7 separate regions of the Homo sapiens genome follow, and all the other regions are linked to region 1. Evidence: promoter capture Hi-C in 16 types of primary human blood cells and fetal thymus (Javierre and others, 2016). All regions are on one chromosome and are shown on one strand. The core of a region is centred on a gene start or on the middle of the fragment in contact, and the rest is flanking DNA. Distances in the headings are between cores, read along the strand shown.

What was found. Contacts are between HindIII fragments. The CHiCAGO score rates a contact against its expected background, and 5 or more counts as called.
Region 2: a fragment that was not itself captured here is called in contact with the fragment with the promoter of DAPK2 in region 1 in 2 of 17 cell types (endothelial precursors and M2 macrophages); the score reaches 7.1 in endothelial precursors.
Region 3: a contact is called between a fragment that was not itself captured here and the fragment with the promoter of DAPK2 in region 1, in 8 of 17 cell types (erythroblasts, megakaryocytes, endothelial precursors and 5 more). The highest score is 7.6, in erythroblasts.
Region 4: a contact is called between a fragment that was not itself captured here and the fragment with the promoter of DAPK2 in region 1, in 5 of 17 cell types (endothelial precursors, M1 macrophages, M0 macrophages and 2 more). The highest score is 6.5, in endothelial precursors.
Region 5: a fragment that was not itself captured here is called in contact with the fragment with the promoter of DAPK2 in region 1 in 9 of 17 cell types (endothelial precursors, megakaryocytes, M1 macrophages and 6 more); the score reaches 9.8 in endothelial precursors.
Region 6: a fragment that was not itself captured here is called in contact with the fragment with the promoter of DAPK2 in region 1 in 1 of 17 cell types (erythroblasts); the score reaches 5.1 in erythroblasts.
Region 7: a fragment that was not itself captured here is called in contact with the fragment with the promoter of DAPK2 in region 1 in 2 of 17 cell types (endothelial precursors and erythroblasts); the score reaches 5.6 in endothelial precursors.

What each region holds. Positions count from the first base shown.
Region 1 is chr15:64,045,049-64,047,774 of GRCh38, reverse strand. It overlaps DAPK2 (death associated protein kinase 2), which reads left to right and starts at 1,290. Exons shown (of 12, transcript NM_014326.5): 1 at 1,290-1,477. RefSeq lists silencers at 1,117-1,326, 1,347-1,406, 1,437-1,656. The HindIII fragment of the contact is 10,777 bases long and covers 1-2,726 here.
Region 2 is chr15:63,631,999-63,635,198 of GRCh38, reverse strand. It overlaps HERC1 (HECT and RLD domain containing E3 ubiquitin protein ligase family member 1), which reads left to right. Exons shown (of 78, transcript NM_003922.4): 66 at 311-466; 67 at 1,229-1,351; 68 at 2,388-2,490. Among named protein-coding and RNA genes, the nearest start is that of USP3-AS1, 33 kb to the right of the region's middle. The HindIII fragment of the contact is 338 bases long and covers 1,576-1,913 here.
Region 3 is chr15:63,689,177-63,692,002 of GRCh38, reverse strand. It overlaps HERC1 (HECT and RLD domain containing E3 ubiquitin protein ligase family member 1), which reads left to right. Exons shown (of 78, transcript NM_003922.4): 32 at 1,356-1,462; 33 at 2,304-2,414. Among named protein-coding and RNA genes, the nearest start is that of USP3-AS1, 90 kb to the right of the region's middle. The HindIII fragment of the contact is 2,487 bases long and covers 181-2,667 here.
Region 4 is chr15:63,664,519-63,667,433 of GRCh38, reverse strand. It overlaps HERC1 (HECT and RLD domain containing E3 ubiquitin protein ligase family member 1), which reads left to right. Exons shown (of 78, transcript NM_003922.4): 41 at 962-1,078; 42 at 1,284-1,515; 43 at 2,840-2,915. Among named protein-coding and RNA genes, the nearest start is that of USP3-AS1, 65 kb to the right of the region's middle. RefSeq lists a silencer at 1,276-1,446. The HindIII fragment of the contact is 2,101 bases long and covers 350-2,450 here.
Region 5 is chr15:63,709,276-63,712,029 of GRCh38, reverse strand. The region is part of intron 24 of HERC1 (HECT and RLD domain containing E3 ubiquitin protein ligase family member 1); the gene reads left to right. Among named protein-coding and RNA genes, the nearest start is that of USP3-AS1, 110 kb to the right of the region's middle. The HindIII fragment of the contact is 1,654 bases long and covers 462-2,115 here.
Region 6 is chr15:63,581,184-63,583,927 of GRCh38, reverse strand. All of the region lies in intron 11 of USP3 (ubiquitin specific peptidase 3), which reads right to left. Among named protein-coding and RNA genes, the nearest start is that of FBXL22, 15 kb to the left of the region's middle. The HindIII fragment of the contact is 902 bases long and covers 946-1,847 here.
Region 7 is chr15:63,599,517-63,602,607 of GRCh38, reverse strand. FBXL22 (F-box and leucine rich repeat protein 22) reads right to left here. Exons shown (of 2, transcript NM_001367807.1): 2 at 1,367-1,911. The coding sequence ends at 1,569. It overlaps USP3-AS1 (USP3 antisense RNA 1), which reads left to right and starts at 1,781. Exons shown (of 3, transcript NR_034080.1): 1 at 1,781-2,019. RefSeq lists silencers at 1,040-1,169, 1,590-1,879 and enhancers at 867-1,684, 1,947-2,664. The HindIII fragment of the contact is 1,824 bases long and covers 761-2,584 here.

The sequences.
Region 1 (2,726 bases), core at 41-2,540:
AAACTTCACCAGTGGGTGTCATTCCCTTAGGTCCGTTGACATCAGAAACCACCTCTAGTCTTGGATATTACTCTATATATCATGCTGCTCTTAGGAGAGGAGGCTCGCTGGCTGCACTGTTCTGAATTATTGTGAAGTTTATAAACAAGGAACTCTTTGCCGAGGATGTCCTGGACCCGGAGGCACTGCTCAGCTGGGGGGTGGGGTCCATCTGTATTTGTCCCAATGTCCAAAAGGCTGAAGGGTGTGTGTGTGCTCACACTGGTAGAGGTCCTCTAGGTGCATCTTACACACTCCATCTCATCTCAGCCCCACCATAGCTTCATTAGGAGCTACCGGAAGGTGCGTTTCTCCCACTTTACTGATGAAGAAAGAGCCATGCCCAAGAACACACATGCGGAGTGGCAGGGCAGGGCTTTGAACCTGGTGGTAGGACTCTGAATCTAAGGCCCTTTTGAGGAGCCCCATGGGTGACTTAGGGATGGAAATTCCAGGGGTTGGAGGGGTCCTCATTTGCTTCCTCTAAACAGCCTCTTGTTTTGAAATAAGACAAATGAACTTGGCTTAAGTTCTGTTTTCCCTTCCTTCCTCCCTTCACCCCCTCACTCTCATTCCTTTTTTCCTCAGGGATTTTTTGGCAGAGGGCAGAGAGAGGAACCCATTCCCAAGTCCTCTATTAGAGAAGGCGTGATGGTGAGAGGGGGGCTTCACTCAGCAACCGTGCCAGGACAAAGGGCAAACGAGGGCAGGCCGCTCTCAGGCTGGGTCGGGGGCAGTGAGGAGCAGAGCGGCCCTTCTCATCGCAGCCCCCACCTTGCTGTACGCTGTGGGCTTGAGGTTTCCAGGAGAGTCTGCGGTGTAGGGAGCGCTCTGGCTGGGAGGGAGGAGACGGCCTATTCCTCAGTGGGGCTTCCTCGCTCACGGTGTGTATGGTGGGGAGAGGAGCACACAAGTACCATTTTCTGAGGATTGTGCCAGACCATGTCATACGTATAAGCTCATTCAAATCGATTTCCAGATAAGGCCGGGGGAGGGTAGCCGACTTGCCCAAGGCCACGCAGCATGTGCGCGGTAGAGCCGGTAGGGACGCGCAGAGGGTCTTGCTACCGACTCTCCCCGCTCTCCCGGGAGTCTGGGAGCCCTGAGGTGTCCCCTACCCGGCCGGGAAGCTGGGCTCTCGCCCCGGGACTGTCCGGAGGGGGCTCCAGCAGGGGGCGCCCCGAGCCCCGTCCCGGGCAGCCGGGCGCGCCTCCAGCCGGCGCCTGGGACGGGGCTGGCCGCTCCGCCCCCTCGGCTCCTAGGCTGCTCGGCGGGCGGGTGCCGGGCGCTCTGGGAGGAGAGGACTGCAGGGCCGAGCCCAGCGCACCCCGCCGCGTCCCCCGTTCCCGCCGCGCCCGCCGCGCCCGCCGCGCCCGCCGCGCCCGCCGCTCCCGCCGCGCCTGCCGCGGCCGCGACCGCGGCAGCTCAGCCTCCCGCCGTGAGTAGCACCCGTCTGCGGGCTCGATGGGCGGGACGGGGCGCGCGGCCTGACGGCAGCAGCGCCCGGGTCTGGGGCTGGCGGGGCGAAGAGATCCGGGGCACTCGCTCGCAGATCCCGGGCCCGCCGCCCCAATGCCTGACGCCGTGGCCCGGGGCATTGTGGCCGGCACCCGAGCGCGGGAGCTGCCCGCCGCTGCCCTGGGGCGCCCTCCGGAGCCTGGCACTTTGACCTGGGAGACAGGGTAGAGGCGGCGGGCAGAGCCAAGCACCCAGCAGGGAGATGGGAGACAGACGTCCATCGAGTTAGGCCCCCTGGAACGGGCAGAGCACGCCCGGCTCCCGGCCAAGTCTTCTCAGCTTGGGCTGACTCTCTCACCTCTTGCTCCCGCCTGGCACAAGGATGTGATGCGAGGAGGGTGCTCAGATGTCTGAGCTTCCTCTGGGGCTGAATGAAGCTGGGGTCCCCGCCGTCAGGCGCCCCGGCCTGGGGTAGAGCTAGGATGGGCGTGGGGGCGGCCAGCAGGTGTGCTGCAGGTTGGGGTGGAACGGCTTGGAAGGGCGTTGCCAACAGTTGACTAGGACTCTGGGCTAGGCATTTTGGAGGTCCCAAGGCTTGCATAGGTCTGGCTAACCCTCACCGTAACTCTGCACGGTGGAAATTGGTATTCTTACTTTACAAAAGAGAAAACAAGGTCCAGAGAGGTGAGCCTCGTTGAGGCCGTGCAGGTAATGGTAAGGCAGTGGTGCACACTGGAGGAGAGGGCACCATAGCTGGCTGCCTCGGGGGCAAGCGGGCAGGTGCAGGGACAGCGCCTGACATCTTGTATCCTGGAATCCTGTGGAGGGCAGCCACTCTGGTTTCTGACACTGCGACTCCCAACTGCCTCTGTGGAAGATATTCCTGGGAGAGTCCTGTTGACCTAAGAGGCCGTGGTGCCTTGGCCTCTTCACAGCTAACTTCACAGCCCTGTCCTTCCCCAAACCGCTCATCTCCCAAGATGTTTTTTGAGCACCCTCAAGTGGCACCACTGATGATTCAGCACCTTCAGAGGAGACTTGGGCAGAGGGGTCAGGGGTGTGTGGATGTGGCTGGAGGTCTGCTCCTCTGGGGTAAGTTCCTGGCTGGCAGGAATGAGACCCGCACTGACCCTGCCCACCTCCTTGAGGCCTCCCGATTTGTTAGCTGTGGGGTGAACAAGCAGGCTTCCCAAGGGAGCTGGATCTTTGCCAGAGAGACCAAGTTTTTC
Region 2 (3,200 bases), core at 495-2,994, 410 kb after region 1:
GCACATGCCTGTAGTCCCAGCTACTTGGGAGGCTGAGGTGGGAGGATTGCTTGAGCCCAGGAGTTTGGGGCTGCAGTGAGCTGTGATCACACCACTGCACTCCAGCCTAGGTGACAGAGCAAGACACTGTCTCTTTAAAATTTAAAAAAAAATTAAAAAAAAAAATTTTTAAAAGCATTGGTCTTTGAAGATCCAGTTTTCAGTGAAGTTTATGTAAAGTTTATTGCTATATTAATACCAAAAATGGCAGATTTACTTTTTTCTTAGTTTCCCTTCTTAAAAATTTTCTTTCTCCTTGGTTCTGTCTTAGATGTCTTGTGGCTTCAAGCACTCAGCAGTGGTCACTTCAGATGGCAAACTGTTCACCTTTGGGAATGGTGACTATGGTCGTCTGGGTCTTGGAAATACCTCTAACAAAAAACTTCCAGAGAGAGTGACTGCACTGGAGGGATATCAGATTGGACAGGCATGGAATAAATCAATAAGATATTCTAGCTGATCATTGTTTCTCATTTCTTCTGTGTTCGCTTAGACACCCTCAGGAAGATCAGGATCACCAGTTGTACCTAACCTCATGTACATTTTGCTATGGTCTAATTGATAATTTTAACTGTTTCCCAATGTGAAATTCATATTTTAAGTCAATTTAAGTTTGTTTATGTGACAAACCAACAAATGTAACCCTTATTTCAGGACGTGAATATTTTTAAAGCCCCCTCCATAACATACTAATACCACTTGCTATTAAACCCTTAAAAAATACAGATACTAGTAGCTCCTGTCTGGTATCCTTGAGTTGTATGGCTGAATTGCAACATCACTGGTAGCTACTGCTCCTAAGTAGTAATTATCTCTGTCTTGTATACATCAAGAGTGTCCTTTAACAAGGAAATATTTTTGGCTTTTTCTATATCATTCCTTAGATACTTTTTGATATGAATGAATATTTTTGGGTCATGTATACTTTTCCTCTATCTTTCATACTGATTATGGTTTAGCCACAGACATTTGAAGGATTTCACTTTGAAGAAAAAAGTTATATATGGACATTAAGAATTATTTCTTGTTGACTTACTTTGGTTAACATTTGTAGTATGCTCTGAAACCATTGTAGATATTTGGAAACATAGCCAAGTTTTTCACTGAAGTAGAGAAAAAGGGTCCCAGAAACGGGGGAGTGTGTTTTAGGTCTTGTGATTTGCCTTACGGAATGCTGTTATTTCTTTAGGTGGCCTGTGGATTAAACCACACTTTGGCAGTGTCAGCAGATGGTTCCATGGTGTGGGCTTTTGGAGATGGAGACTATGGAAAACTAGGCTTAGGAAATTCCACTGCAAAATCTTCACCTCAGGTCAGTACTGCCTTGAGTCTAGGTTTTCAGACAACATAAATAGTTTTCATCTATGTCAGTAGTTATTATTAGTTGGAAATAATTTACCTTTAGTACTTTTGGTAGTTCATAATGAAGTTTAGAAGCTTCTGTTGTGCATTCTTGAATGCCCACATGCTAGGTCTTGATTTTAAATAAGCTATTAATCCAGCTAAACTGGATTTAAAATTCTGCAAGGATAAGCTTCTGTCTCCAAAAATGGGTTTCACACTGTAGGACCTCTGATGTAGGGAAGAAATAGTTAGAAACATATCTCCAGGATGTCATGGAAGGAACTATGAGTAATCCTTTGTAACCCTCTGCATGCAGCTGCCATTTCTGCTTATTATTACCACTGAATTAACACAGGTACACGTCTCCTTTTAAGAAAACAATACAAAGGAAATCTGAGTCCATGAAGAAAGAAATTAGAAGCTGTTATTCATACTATAGAAGATTTCTTGACTCTACAGAAGTCCTTCTATGTGATTGTTTTATGTGGGTTTTCCTGACGTATTTCACAAGCAGTGTGATTTACAAAGCTTCAGCTTATATTCAGATTCACCACCATTTATAGTCTGTGACATCCTGATAGCTAGACTAGTGAATATTAAGCTACGTATGCAGAGAGGCAGGAAAACTGACTCTGGGGAACATATAAAGCAGTTATTGTCGCCCATAAAAGCTAAAATGTTAAACTAACATGGTCTTCTAGTGTTCTTTAAAAGGTCCTGGAATTCTCCCTGGTCTCTATTACCCAGAGGAATGCTTCTGCTTCACACAGGGCCCTGGGGACTTTAGTCAAACTGCCTCTGCCCCTGCACACTCCCTCCCTGAAATTCAGTTAGTTTGCAGAACAGTAGGAGAAAATAACATTTCAGGTTTGGATTTGGGTCGAACAGGTAAGTGACAATTAGTATTTTTGTTGGAAGGTAGTTCTTGATACATGCCATTAGGCAAATTCAAGAGTGATTTTTTTTCTTCTTAAAGTTGTGTGCCTTACACTTTTATTTTGTAGAAAATTGACGTCCTTTGTGGAATTGGAATAAAAAAGGTTGCTTGTGGAACTCAGTTTTCTGTTGCTTTGACCAAAGATGGTCATGTGTATACCTTTGGTCAAGGTAAGACATTTTTCAGCTTATTTGCTTGGGTACACATCATTATAAACATTGGCCTTCCAGTGTTACAGAATGTGCTCTAAATTGAGTCCTTTTTTTGTTCTAGGTGGTGAGTAGTCACTATGACCTCCTTTCAGTATAGATAATTTTCCACTTCTCTTTCATGTGCTTTATTATAAAGACAAACTCCCCTCCCCATTAAGACCCCTTATGCCAGAGCCAGCACTCTTGCTAGAAGAGTCCCTGCCAAGGGCCGTCCCCTCTTCTTTTCTACTGCCCTTGACATGCTGCCACAAATACTGCCTTGACCATCAGAGCTCCTCTGTGTCCTGCCTCATTCTTCATCCCTTCTAGGGACTGGGGCTGCAGATCTTAGGAACTGGAGGAATTCATAGGCACTCTGGGTTCAAATCTTGAGTAGGTTCGTAACCCAGGCATTCACAGTAGGACTGAGATTCTTGGCAAGGGTAGTTGTTTAGGGATATGTGAGACAGGTGTGAGGAAGAGGAAGTAAACCATGACTGAAGTTTCTAGTTGTGGGAGAACATCGATGCCTCTGACTGAGGACATGAGCTGGTTTGTGGGGAAGGGTAAGGAATTTAGTTTTAGTTATGTTGAATGGACCCATTTGCCCTAAATAAATGTGTGGAAATGTCCACTAGGCTATTGAGAATTTAGATCTGGAACTCCAGAAGGATTGATTATGAAGATGT
Region 3 (2,826 bases), core at 175-2,674, 360 kb after region 1:
TGATATTTATCACAGTTCTATAGAATAAGCTTAATCCCTGGTCCTTACCCTAAAATGTCTGCTTACATAGATTACAGTCAGTCCTTTCCTGTTCTCTTTTGCTAAAATTGTGGTAAAATGCACGTAACGTGAAATTTGCCATTTTAATCATTTAAATATACAATTTAGTGACATTAAGCTTATTCACAGTATTATACAACAATCACTGCCATCCATTTCCAGAACTTTTTTTCATAATCTCTAATCTAAGTATGCCAAAACATAATGTAATCCTCTACGGCACATGGTATTTTATATGTTTACACGCTCAATATACTTTTTTTCTTAATTAGTATAACTTACAACTGCTCCTTTTTTTTTCCTTTAATAAGGTAAGGCTTATATTAAGTTTCAAGAGGATAAAGAAAAATCAGATATTCATTTATTTTCAACTGATCTTATTACAGTTATATGTATTTTTTAATTACATATTTATGTATCAGTATCCTATTTTCTACCTTGGATTACTTCATTTATTTATTTATTTTTTATTATTTTGAGACAGAGGCTCTCTGTGTCGCCCAGGCTGGAGTGCAGTGGTGTGATCTCAACTCACTGCAACCTCTCACTTCCAGGCTCAAGTGATCCTCCCGTCTCAGCCTCCCAAGTAGCTGGGATCACAGGCGTGCACCACCACTCCCAGCTAATTTTTGTATTTTTAGTAAAGGCAGGGTTTCACCATGTTGGCCAGGCTGGTCTTGAACTCCTGGCCTTAAGTGATCTGCCCGCCTCAGCCTCCCAAAGTGCTGGGATTACAGGCATGGGTCACCATGCCCGGCTGTTGGCTTACTTTAGAAAAGTATAGTCTGTTTACTCCCGGTTAACCCTAACAATCCCTGTGAGACAGTCAGTGCATGGACGGAGAGAGGCAATGAGAGGGAATAATAAGCATGAGCTTTGGAGATTAACAGACCTGTTTAAAACTCTACCTCTATGAGCTTGTGTGGCTTTGGTCAAGTTACATAACTTCTCTGAGCCTCATTTTTCTCAACAGTAAAATGGGGCTGTAATTCAGTTTGTGAGGATTAATAGAATGTATGTGTGTGAAATGTGTAGCATAGCATAGTATCTGGCACAGATACTTTTTTACAATGCTCTTCCCATTATGTATACATAAAAACTGAGGCATAAGCATGAATGTATTCATACGCATTCATGGGTACAGGATGGATCCAGAATTCTTGCGATAATAGTTTGAAATCAAGTTTGTTCCACCCATAAATGTTTAGCAGCCTCAGGAATTTTTTTCCCAGAAGTTCATTTTAACTTTGAATTTAAGTCACATTGATAATAAGAAAAGGTCTTTTCCCCTCCAGGTATCCCTCTGGTTGGTAACTTAAGAACAAGGCTCCTTGCACTTCATGTCCTTGAAGCTGTGCTGCCAGCTTGTGAATCTGGTGTAGAAGATGATCAAATGGCCCAGGTTTTTATTTTTAAAATTATTAGAAGATGTTTTCCATATTTGCAAAATGATTCACCCAAATCTGTACTTAACAGTCTCTTCAGTTGTAAATGTGTCTTTTATTCAATAGCATAACGTTTACTTTTAGGACTGCTTTCTTTATTATTTCACCCCCAAGGAGAGGGCAAAAAAAATTAAGTTATGGGGTGTGAGAAGTAGAGGGATAGAGAATACTCTGCAAGGTCAGAAGGAAAGAAAAATCTGGAATTTCTTACTAGGTTTGGACCGCTATAGGAAGAAACATGTGGGAGTGTCCTAATCAGAGGTCTAAATAGTAAGGCAAAATGGGACCCACTTTCTAATAGGTTAATATTTCTTTTTTTTTTTTTTTTTTTGAGATGGAGTCTCGCTCTGTCGCCCAGCCTGGAGTGAGTGCAGTGGCGCGATCTCAGCTCACTGCAGCCTCCGCCTCCTGGGTTCAAGTGATTCTCCTGCCTTAGCCTCCAAGTAGCTGGGACTATAGGCACATGCTACCATGCCTGGCTAATTTTTGTATTTTTAGTAGAGATGGGGTTTCACCATGTTGGCCAGGCTGGTCTCAAACTCCCAACCTCAGGCAATCCACCCGCCTCAGCCTCCCAAAGTGCTGGGATTACAGGCATGAGCCACCGTGCCTGGCTTCTAATGGGTTAATATTTCTAAAAACTGATATTTAACTTATAACCACTAAAAGTAGCTGTTGAACACTGGTATAATCAAACTTCGCATGCGAGTTAATATTACAGTTAACATGATACAGCTTTTCTAAAAATACTTAAAGTTACTTTTTACAAATTTTATCCTTTTTTCTTCAATAAAACAGATTGTTGAGCGCTTATTTTCCCTTCTCTCTGATTGTATGTGGGAGACACCCATTGCTCAGGCCAAACATGCTATTCAGATAAAGGAAAAAGAACAAGAAATAAAACTACAGGTAATTGGTTTTTCCTAAAAGGTATTTCTTAACAGCATAAGTGAATATTCTGTCACTTGTCTCTGAATGCCTGTTCCTCTGAGGCACCTTGCTCTATCATTTATTCCATTTCCTCTCTTGGCATTCTGTCTCCCTTTCCACTGATTCCCTCCCCTCAGCTTATAACCATGCTTAACTCATTTCCTCTCTCCTAAATCACATTTTTATCTGTGAAGTCTTCTCTGTCTTCTCTCTTGTCCTGTAGTACTAAGCTTCTTAGAAGAGTAATCTGCATGTTTCAGCCACTTTCTTCTCATTATCTCTTCAACCCCACCATTTATCTTGTATCAAAGTACGAAATTAAATGACAAAGATAAGTGTTTGTTGCTAAATATAGTGTATCCTTTTTTTTCCACTTCTTACTTTACCTCTG
Region 4 (2,915 bases), core at 151-2,650, 380 kb after region 1:
TGATTTGTTTTTTTTTAATCTCATCTTCCGTGTTTATTTCACATGCTCAATCTTTCCTCTAACTTACTGAATACATGGAATAATAGTTGATTCTCATTATTAGCAATAGTTATGTTCTAAAAGGTTATTATGAACACTGAATTAGCAAATACTGAACCATTGCTCCTAGGAGAAATACAGGGTTAAGTTCCTGTGAACTTCTAGTTACATTTCCATCATCTGATCAGTATGCTGTATAATCTTGTTTTGTGCATCTTTCTGTTTAAAGATACCACATTTAATACATACTGTTTATTCACTAACATTGAGCTTATGGCCACCAACACTATAGCTCATCATGAATGAAGCTTATCTAACATATGTATTTTCTTCATAAGGCACATTACAGCATCCTTGTGCTTAGAAACACTAGACAGCACTTTAGCACTATGCTTGGGGCCATTTTAATCAGGGAAATCACCGACCAAAAGCATAAAAATGCGAAGAATGTAGCACTAAATAGACTATGAAAAGGACACTTGTTTTTCACATGAGAGCTGAAACATGAAGGCAGAGCATCACCTTGTTGGACCTCAGCTGTGAACACATATGTTGAGGGACTAAACTTTTTAGTCCCTCTGCATATGTCACAAATGACTACAAAAGTACATGAGTATTGATTTTGAGATTACAAATAAATTTTATTGAGTATACAGATTTACAAATATGGAACTTGGATGAGGAGTGGGTTATTTACATACTCTTATAGTACCTCTACACAAATCTTTACAAAGTATAACATAAATGGATGTTAGTAAAACTGGGATTACAGGTGTGAGCCACAGTGCCCAGCCACATATTCTGAGTAGAGGAAAATTTCATTAAACTTGGACAATACTAGGAAATTGAGGACTATGAAGACACTTTTTACTCACGGTATCTAGTGATATTTAGGTTCTTATTTCTCTTCCTTTTGTCTCAGCCTTGTCAGACCCAAGCAGTAGACTTTCAACTTCTCCTCCTCCTCCAGCAATTGCAGTTCCCTTGCTGGAAATGGGGTTCTCTCTTCGGCAGATTGCCAAAGCCATGGAAGCTACAGGTAGGATAAGTTTTTATATATCAGTGTATACAGATATGAGAAGTCCTAGCTTATTAAAGACAACATAACTTTTAAGAGGCTATGAAACTTGGTAAGATTTTTAACACTATATTTTGTTACAAGAGCATCATAGCAAACACTCTTATAACATAAAGACCTAATTCTTTGCCCAAAGTCAGCATCAGACTGTTTTTCCCCTGTATAGGTGCTAGGGGAGAGGCTGATGCCCAGAATATCACTGTCCTTGCCATGTGGATGATAGAGCACCCTGGGCATGAGGATGAAGAGGAGCCCCAGTCGGGCAGCACAGCAGACTCTAGGCCTGGAGCAGCCGTTCTAGGCAGTGGCGGGAAGTCAAATGATCCCTGTTATTTGCAGTCACCTGGAGACATACCATCAGCTGATGCTGCTGAAATGGAGGAAGGTTTTAGTGAAAGGTGAAATTCCAGTTTCTGTACTTTTGTTCCATGTGTTATAAATTTCAAAGCCCCATTTATTATATATCCCGTCATAAATGCTTCTAATTGTATGTAAAGTTGATAAATATAGTTATATGAAAAGATGGGCATTTTAGTTACAAGTTTATATTTCTGTGAAGGGTAAAAGTGACATGACAAGTTTTGATTTGAGTAGGTGTTTTCATGCCAGAAGAAATTTCATAATTTTTGTGTAAAATTGTACTGAAAAAGGAAACAAGTTTATTTTGAAGTAAACATGCTAATAAAATAATTTTATCTCGTACAAGTGATATAAAATCGAGTATTCATTTTAATATTGGACATTGATTTAATGTATTTGATAGAATTGAACTTTTTTTTTTCTGAGACGGAGTCTCGCTCTGTCGCCAGGCTGGAGTGCAGTGGCGCGATATCGGCTCACTGCAGCAACCTCCGCCTCCCCGGTTCAAGCAGTTCCCTGCCTCAGCCTCCCAAGTAGCTGGGACTATAGGCATGTGCCACCATGCCCGGCTCATTTTTTGTATTTTTAGTAGAGACAGGGTTTCACCATGTTGGCCAGGACGGTCTCGAACTCCAGACTTCGTGATCCACCCACCTTGGTCTTCCAAAGTGCTGGGATTACAGGCATGAGCCACCGTTCCTGGCCTAGAATTGAACTTTTAAGTCTTCTCTGTGTAATATTTATATTTTCATCTCTTCTATAGTTTTTAATATCTAGTAGAAGATGCCCCTTTAAGTGTAAAAAGATTGCTGTGATAATGCCTATCCTAAAATGAGATGTATAGAATATCTTACAAATTCTCCCTAAAATCTTTTTTCCTTCATCACTTCTTATGACTTTAAATCTTTATTTTTCATTTTAACTATGGAGCCATATAGTAACCAAGGCTTGTGTCCTAGATGGCATGCAAGCTTTTTCCAACAAGCTCAGTGAATATTTTCATAACGTATTTCAAAATACCTGTTTTTCCTAGGCAAGAATTCTCAATCATTTCAAATTTTAAGTATTTAATCTTTTAGGATTTAGTTAAGGTCATATTTGATCTCATTTAAATTTGAGCTTCATTAAACATCATTTTGTTGTTGGAAGAATTCAAAATCAGACAAAGTTATTGCTCAGGTCACAGGAAATGTTATATGCATAATTGAACTGTTCAAGGGATAAAGATGTGTTTCAAATTTTATCATAAACATATTTTATTCTCAATGAGAATAAAGTAGTACTACAAGTAAGCTTACACCTATGCTTTCTTTCCATAATGGTTTCAAAAACTTTGTGTTGCTTTCTCACTTGCACTTGTAGCCCTGATAATTTGGATCATACAGAGAATGCAGCTTCTGGAAGTGGACCATCAGCTAGAGGTCGCTCAGCGGTAACA
Region 5 (2,754 bases), core at 39-2,538, 340 kb after region 1:
AGGTGAGGTAAAGGTATGCTACAGTGTCACTGGTAAAATATAAAGCGAAAACTATCTAGAAGATTGCTTCTACTTGAGGAACTTTGGACTTGGAGTTAATTGGTAGCTAGGTTTTCAATTTGGCTGTTCCTCTGCCTTGTGTGTGATTCTATATGTGCTATGACCTCCCTGGGCTTTAGTGTCTTACTGTGTGATACGAAGATGGTAGTGCCTGTTGTGTATATGGTGATGTGTCAGACTTGGCTTCTGGTCTCGATTCTACTGTTAAAGAGCGGTGGGATCTTGGTCATATCATGTGACAGCTCATAGAGAAATGCTAGCGTTTGAGATGGACTTATCTATAAGCTCCATGTGTAATTCTGAAATTCCTCTGTTGTATGAACTGAGAGAAGGGATAGGAAAATATTTTTGAAAAAGTATAAAGTGCTACATAAAGAATAAGTTATTGTTTTAAAAAAGCTTCCATAAAGGATTCCTCATCTAAGGAAAGTTGAACAGTGTCTTTACGTTTCATTGTATCATGACATTTTGTTTATACTTCCTCCTTTTCTCCTTCATCTGCATTAATATCTCTGTGCTTCCACTTCATACTCCCAGTCTTATAGTCTAGTGAGATTCCTGTGCTCATTTATTTCTCTGTCAGTTAATTTTTTAAATCTGATCAATCTGACTCATTATCTAGTCTCCTAACTCTGTGATAATTTCCCTTTTTTTTGAGACAGGATATTACCCTGTCACTCAGGCTGGAGTTCAGGCTGCTCAGTGCAGCCTCGAACTCCTGAGCTCAAGCAATCCTCCTGCCTCAGCCTCCCGAGTAGCTGAGATTACAGGCATGTGCCACCATTTCTGGCTAATTTTTTAAATTTTTATGTCTTGCTCTGTTGCCCAGGCTGATCTTAAACTCCTGGCCTCAAGTGATCCTCCTGCTTCAGCCTCCCAAAGTGTTGGGATTACAGGTGTGAGCCACTGCACCCAGCTCCCAACCCTGCAATAATTTTGAAACATAGATCATGTCGTTTCTCTGCTCAGAGTCCTGCAATGACTTCCCTTTTCTCAGACTAGAAGTCTAAGTCCTTACAGGGGTCTATAGGCTCTTCATGGTCTGGTCCCACTACCTCTCTGATCTCTTCTGTTACTCTCCTCAGTGATTCTCCTTCTGTCACACTGGACTCTTAGCTGTTGCGTGAATCTGCAACACAAGTTCCCTTTAGGGCCTTAACTGGCTGTTTCTTAGGACTGGAATGCTATTGCCTGCATGGCTAACTCCCTCTCTTTCTTCAAGTCTTCATTCTGATGTTACTTTTTCCATGAAGCCTGTGCTGACCACCCTATTTAAAATGTCAATTTTCCTTCTTTTCCAAATAGTCACTTCCTGTCCCCCTTGCCTTGCTTTGTTTTTTCTGGGGCACCGATCACTTACTGTATAATTTAGTTATTCATTGATCAGTTAGTCTTAGTCTACATTAGAATATAAGCTCTTTAAGGACAGGAATTTTTTGCTGTTTTATTCACTTCTGTATCCCAAGCACCTATAATAGCACGTGGTAGGTAGTCAGGAAATTATTTTTAAATTTATAAATAACTGTCTAATCTATTTTGGCAAAATTTCCACATGCATTTGGTTTTTTCCTTTCTTTAATTGAAGTGCCCTATTACCTGTTTCTGGAGTAGGTATTTTCAAACTGGTCCCCCTACTTTTTCCAGTTTTGCTCCTTAGACACTTCTTTCCAAATTAGAACTCTTGGAAACACACATAACAACAACAAAACACCTACCTGCTGATTGTGCTACTTTCCTACTCAAACATCTTGTCTTACTGCAGAGAGATGGCTAGTCCACGCAAGTCCAAATTACAGACTGATCAAATCTAGGAGTGACTGCACTGCCTACTCGGAAATCAAAGATTCTGGGAAGTGTCACCTGCCTGCTTTTGGAACCAGTATTCTTCTGCAGTGGTCTGCATTTTTGCCATAGTAGTTCATCTGCCAGACCCCAAGCATACCTCTTGAGCCTTTGCTAAAGCACTATTTGCCTTAAAAGTTCTCCTAGGCTTCCTTGCTGATATCCTGTCTTTCCCTGAAGGACTGTCTAAAATGTTACCTCTTCCAGAAAGCTTTCCCAGCTACCTTACTCTCCCAGTTGTCCCATGACAGTTTGTTAGGATGTCTGATAATTTACCGTTTGTCTTATGTTGGACTTATTTATGTATTATTAGTATGTCTTCCCAGTAAACCCACTAGAAATCTAGGATTTTTTGGTTTTTATTTTTCCTAAATGCCCCTGATATCTCCTACACAGTGCTTTACATATTGTAAATGATTAATAACTCCTTTCAACTGAAATGAAAATATAGAAAGGAGGATGGGTAAAATTAAAGTGGTGTACTTTTGGGAAATCAGCTATGAAATCTGACTCAGAATAGGGTTAAAACTCACCATGGACTTTGACCTGTACAAGACATTTAACCTTCCTGAGCTCCAGTTTCTTTATCTTTGAAGTGGAGAATAATGCCTGTTGTACTTGCCTCAACTGTGTTGTGAAGAATAAATTTGGTAATACAATTTAAAATATCTGGAAAATTATAAATGGGGACAACAGATCAATGGAGGAGGATTGAGCTTAGATTTAATTGTTAAGATTGTTAGGTTTTCTGGTTGTTCACTTAGTTTTTAGAAAATTTTTAAAAAGACTAAAAAAAAACCCATTTTTAAAAAAGATTGGGCCAGGCGCAGTGGCTCATGCCTGTAACCCCAG
Region 6 (2,744 bases), core at 147-2,646, 460 kb after region 1:
TTCATAGCAGCATTATTTATAATAGCCAAAAGGTGGGAAAAACCCAAGTGTCGTCAACAGATGAATGGATAAACAGAATGTAGTCTATACATACCAGAGAATATTAAGCCTCAAAAAGGAAGTAAATTCTGAGACATGCTTACAACATGGATGACCCCTGAATATACACTAAGTTAAGCCAATCACAAAAGGATAAATATAGTATGATTCCACTTATATGAGGTGCCTAGAATAGACAAATTCATAGAGGATACAATAAGAGTTACTGGGAACAAGAGAGGAAAAGTAATGAGTTACTGTTTAATGGGTACAGAGTTTCTGTTTAGGATGACAAAAATTTTTACAAGTAGTAATGGTTGTATAATATTTTGGGTGTGCTTAATGCCACTGAATTACACACTTAAGACACTTAAAATGTTACATTTTATTCTATGTATATTTTACCACAATTTTTTAAAAAATTGTTTTAAGAGACAAGGTCTTCTTCCTCTGTCATGCAGGCTGGAGTATAAAATAGCTCACTGAAGCCTCAAACTCCTGGGCTCAAGCAATCCTCCCCAGTAGCTGAGATTACAGGCATGAGCCACACTGTGCCTAGCTCATTTTTTTTAATTGACAATGTCTGCTTGAAACTTTCACAGGCAAATAAGAAGGCAGGGAGAGTATGACTCTGAAATACTGTCACTCCAGCCTCTCCATCCCATTAGCCAGATGGTTTATGATTCACCAGCAAGACATTGTTGCCTGTGCTACCTAGCCACACAACACTGAGAAGCAGAAATGCCTCAACAGCAGAGAAGCCTTTTTCCCCCCCCTATATTTAACCTGTACAGACCCACTTTCTGAAGGGGTCTCCCCGTGTGTGGAAGCATGGGGTCATTCAGAGGGCTACTACTGAGTTGGCAGGTGGTATTCTAAATCTCCTTTAGTAACTGTTTAGAAGCTTTAATTTCAGGAATTTGATACCCTGAGGAGCACTGAGATTACTGAAAGAATCTATCAACATTTCACAGTAACTCATCTGCATTTATGTGAAATGCACATAAATACTAGACTGCTCTCTTGTTCCTTCTACCTGCCAGGCAAAGCCCCTGCCATCACCCTGCTCCTTTTCTGAAACCAAAGCACCTCTCGCAGCCTTCCTTCCTGTCCTCATCTTCTCTCCAATGCAAAGGAGGCTCTTTATGCCTTCTCCCAGCATCTTCCAGCATCTTCTTGCTTTCCAACATTTTCTTCCTCCCTGCCTTTTTGAGTTGCTTAAACTTACAAGGTGACCATGTAGTGGTCTCCCTGCTGATTTATGCACAAGATAATGGAAAGTTAGTCCTTTTCTTCTAAGACCACATGAGATACCAAAAAGGAATAGACATGATCAGGTCAGGCCCATAAGATGATTCATAAAGAGGCAATATAAGCTGAGCCTGGTTTTTCAAACCCTCAGTTTAAAAAATGGTGGCCCTAACTGCCTTGAGAACCCCTCTCTGTTCTCCCTTTTGGTACTGCCTGCCAAGAGGTGGGGACATCCTCAGGATCACAGCCAAAGCAGAAGGTAAGGAGACTGGTGTGCCCAGTAGGGCCTCCTGGGGAGTTCCCCTAAGAAAGTGCTATTATAGTAAACCCTAGTTGGATTAGTAGAGAACAATCTCCACTACCACTGTCATCTCTTCATGGGTTTTAAAAAGTTACCTGAGCATCCCCAGAAACCTAATGCCTATTTGTAATCCTTAGCCTCCCAGAGTGCTGGGATCACAGACATGAGCCACCATACCCGGCCCTAAAAATCAACTTTTAAATCACAGTTTCTAAACATAAAATTTCTGAACTACAGTATGTCTGAATGATAAGCTTATAAGGGATGTATATGTTCCTCTTTTTACTTTTTTGAGTTTTCTCCAAATTCTTCAATAAACATATGTATAAAGAAAACCATTATTAAAACATACAGGCCAGGCATAGTGGCTCACGCCTGTAATCCCAGCACTTTGGGAGGCTGAGGTGGAGGATCATTTGAGCCTAGGAATTCAAGACCAGCCTGGGCAAAAGGGTGAAACCCTGTGTCTACAAAAAATACAAAAAACACAAGCATTGCAGCATGTGCCTGTAGTCCCAGGAGACTGAGGTGGGAGGATCACCTCAGACTAAGAGGTTGAAGCTGCAGTGAGCCATGATCCCACCACTGCACTCTAGCCTGGGCAACAGAGTGAGACCCTGTCTTTTAAAAAACAAACATATGGGCCGGGCACAGTGGCTCACACCTGTAATCCCAGCACTTTGGGAGGCCGAGGCAGGTGGATCATGAGGTCAGGAGTTTGAGACCAGACCAATATGGTGAAACCCTGTCTATACCAAAAATCCAAAAAAAAAAAAAAAAAAAAAATTAGCCGGGTGTGGTGGCTGCACACCTGTAGTCCCAGCTACTCAGGAGGCTTAGGCAGAAGAATCGCTTGAACCCGGAGGCAGAGGTTGCAGTGAGCCAAGATTGCACCGCTGCACTCTAGCCTGGGCAACAGAGCAAGACTCCATCTAAACACACACACACACACACACACACACACACACACACACACACACACACACACACAAAAACCAACACAAACATACATATAAACACATGGAAATATATTTCTTTAAGGGGAAGACTATCTAGATACAACATACCCTTAACATTCACAGATTTGGCAACTGCTATTTTAACTATTTGAAAAGCCTGAATGACCCTGAAATGTACCTCAGTTTAATATTTT
Region 7 (3,091 bases), core at 423-2,922, 450 kb after region 1:
TTTTTTTTTTTTTTTTTTTTTTGAGACAAGAGTCTCTCTGTCGCCCAGGCTGGAGTGCAGTGGCACGATCTTGGCTCACTGCAAGCTCCGCCTCCCGGGTTCACGCCATTCTCCTGCCTCAGCCTCCTGAGTAGCTGGGACTACAGGTGCCCGCCACCACGCCCGGCTAATTTTTTGTATTTTTTTTTAGTACAGACGGGGGTTTCACCTTGTTAGCCAGGATGGTCTCGATCTCCTGACCTCGTGAATCGCCCATCTTGGCCTCCTAAAGTGCTGGGATTACAGGCATTGAGCCACCGCACCTGGCCCTTCTACCCTCTTATATACCAGTTACCTGTTGTCTCTTCCCCCACTAGAAGGTAAGCTTCATGAGAACAGAATTTGTCTTTTTCCTTGCCGTTTCCCTATTTGAGCAATGAATTAAGGAACCTGTGAGTAGGGATCAAGCTCCTCTTTCACACAGAAGAAACACCTGGCCTGGGAGGGGTAAAGGGCTTTGTCGCAGCTGGCGCTGGGTGGAGCCGGAGTGTGAACAGCGCCCATCACAGTGCTCCTCGCCTCTTCCACCCACCCAGAATTCTCCCCAGTGACCCAGGACCAGGCGGCTGCCGGGGGGCCGAGAGCCTTCACTAAATGTGACACATCAGTGACTACAGCCCTGAAATTCAAATTGGAAGCCTAGGCTTGTGCTCATGTCCAGCAAATCCAACAGGTGAAAAATCTAGCTTGTCAGCTTATAATGGTTCCATTATCAAAAGCTTAGCCAGGGCTGCTGGTTTTGTTTTTGTTTAGTTTGAGGCTTTTTTTTTCTTCCAAATCATTTCTTTTTCCCTTATGAGAACAGTAGAAAATATGGGTAACTATGCAGTTTATGTAAGCATTCAACAATTGGGAGCGAATTTTCTACAATCGCGAGTGCGGTCACTGCGGGAACGCATCCGCCCCAGGAAAGGTGGGCGGGCAGACGCGCGTGCGGGCAAAACCGCAAGGAGGAGCGGCTCGGTGGCTCCTTCTGCCCGTGCGCCCCTGCTTCCCCTCCTCCTGCTTCACCGAGATCACCACCGGGGCTCCTGGAGGTGGCGGTCCCCAGGACACTCCGGGAGCCGGCGGGGTCTCGCTGGGTCGCTCCGCCCGGAGGCTCCCCAGACCCCTGCGCGCGGCAGCCCTGGCCCCCGTCACCCCCGAGCGCAAGTCGGCGAACTCCGAGTGGTCAGGTCCTCCCCACCGAGGTGATTTCGGTCCAACGGCGATCGGAGTCCCCGAGGACGGTGCAGGCGCCTCCCGCCTCCGTGGGGAGCGCACAGCAGAAAGCCTGGGGCGGAAGCAAGAGGGGAAAGGCGGTGGTGTTGAGTGAGAACCAGCCGAGTGTTTTCCAAATATCCATTTAATCTTGCGTTTATCCTATGTATAAAATCGTAACGTGAGGTAGGCTTTCTTATCCCCACTGTGCAGACGGGGAAAATGAGGCTCAGAATATGCGGTGGTGGTCTGAAGGTGGAAGAGCTGGGTTCGAAGCCAGGACGGTCTGGGGCTGCGCTCCTTCCCCGGGGGCAGCGGCGGGGCGGCGTCTAGCGCTGCAGCAGCTTGCCGAGGGCCGCGGCGGGCGCGCGCGGGCGCGGGGGCTGGTCGGGCAGCATGGCGGCGCTGTGCTCTGCCCGCAGGGCCAGGCGCGGGCACGCGGCGCGCAGGCGGCGCAGGCCGGCCGCGCTCACGTTGCGGCAGAAGTCCACGTGCAATGTCTGCAGCGCGCGCCCGTCCGCCGCCACGGCAGCCAACGTGCGGTTGGTGACGCGCGCGCAGTTCTCCAGGCGCAGTGCGCGCAGGCGTGGGCAGCAGCGCAGCAGGCGCGCCAGGCAGTCGTCGGTAACGTGGCCGCAGCCCGAGAGCGTGACGGACGCCAGGTTGGGGCACCTGTGAGGAGAGTGCGGTGACCCGGGGCTCACTGGCTTGTTAAAGCTACCCAACCGCCCCATGGGACCGAGTGGACTCATTTACCGAGGAGGACTCGGGCCCTGCGAGGTGAAGACACTTGGCTGCGATGACACTGCAGGGTTCCAAGTCGGCTTTCTGGCCGGCCCATTTTCCCTCCTCTTTCTGCCCCTGCACCCCACCGTACCTTCATCTGCGTGGGTTCTTGGCTCGTAGCCTTGGGAGCCCCTAGTGGGAAGCCCCGACCCCGGCCCAGCAGAGTCCTGGGGCGGCTGTGGACAGAGGGAATGCCGGTTCCAGGAGCCACAACCCTTGACTCTTTGTTTCGCTCTGGATGTGCTGCCTTGCAGGGGAGCGGTGCTTGGCGATTGCTCCAGTCTAGCTTCAAGCTGAGGCCCCTGAATGTCCCGGCGGGACGTGAGTGGGAAGAGGGATTTGTTTCCTTGGAGGTGGCCTAGTGACAGGCCCATCCCAACCCTCAAGGCGGTGGGGGCACGCGTTAGCATTGAGTCCGGGTTCAGCTTAGTAGACTAGAGCTGTTCCTGCATCCCCTGGGCCACCAGCCTGGAAAAGGGTAGGGTTCGGAGGCAGCTAGAGGCAAGCCCTGAGCAGGTACAGTCACGGACACCCACCCAGGTCGCTTGGCCAGAAAGCTTGGGGGACCCTCTGCTGCAGCCTCACCAGCCCCTCCCAGCAAAGAAAAGATCTTGAGCCAAGTTAGACTTGGTTTATCGCCGTGTCAGTCACTCACGGAGCCTTCATTTCCTCTGCGTGGGGGGAATAATGTCTACCACTGGGGTTGTGAGGAGCCTGCAACGGGGCCTTCCACAGGCAGTCCTAACCCGCTTTCCCTGGAAACAAACGGGACCAGCCTGCTTCCAGTCCAGAAGGACCGACTAATGGGCCGGGGCCTTGGCTCCCCGCAGCCAGAGGGAGCTAGAGTCTGGGCTGGGGAAGCGTTTCCCTTTCCCTGCCAGCCTCCCCCGCAGCTCCGTGACTGCCCCTGGCTGTGCCAGCTCGGCTCCTTTGTGCCAGGGGAGGGAAGTAAGGAACTTAAATATGTTGGGTGCAGCCAGGTGTCACACCGAGCCCGGGCCTCCTTCAGGTTTGTGTGCCCTCATTAGTCACCCCGTCAACCTCTGCACCCCCAGTTTTGTACATG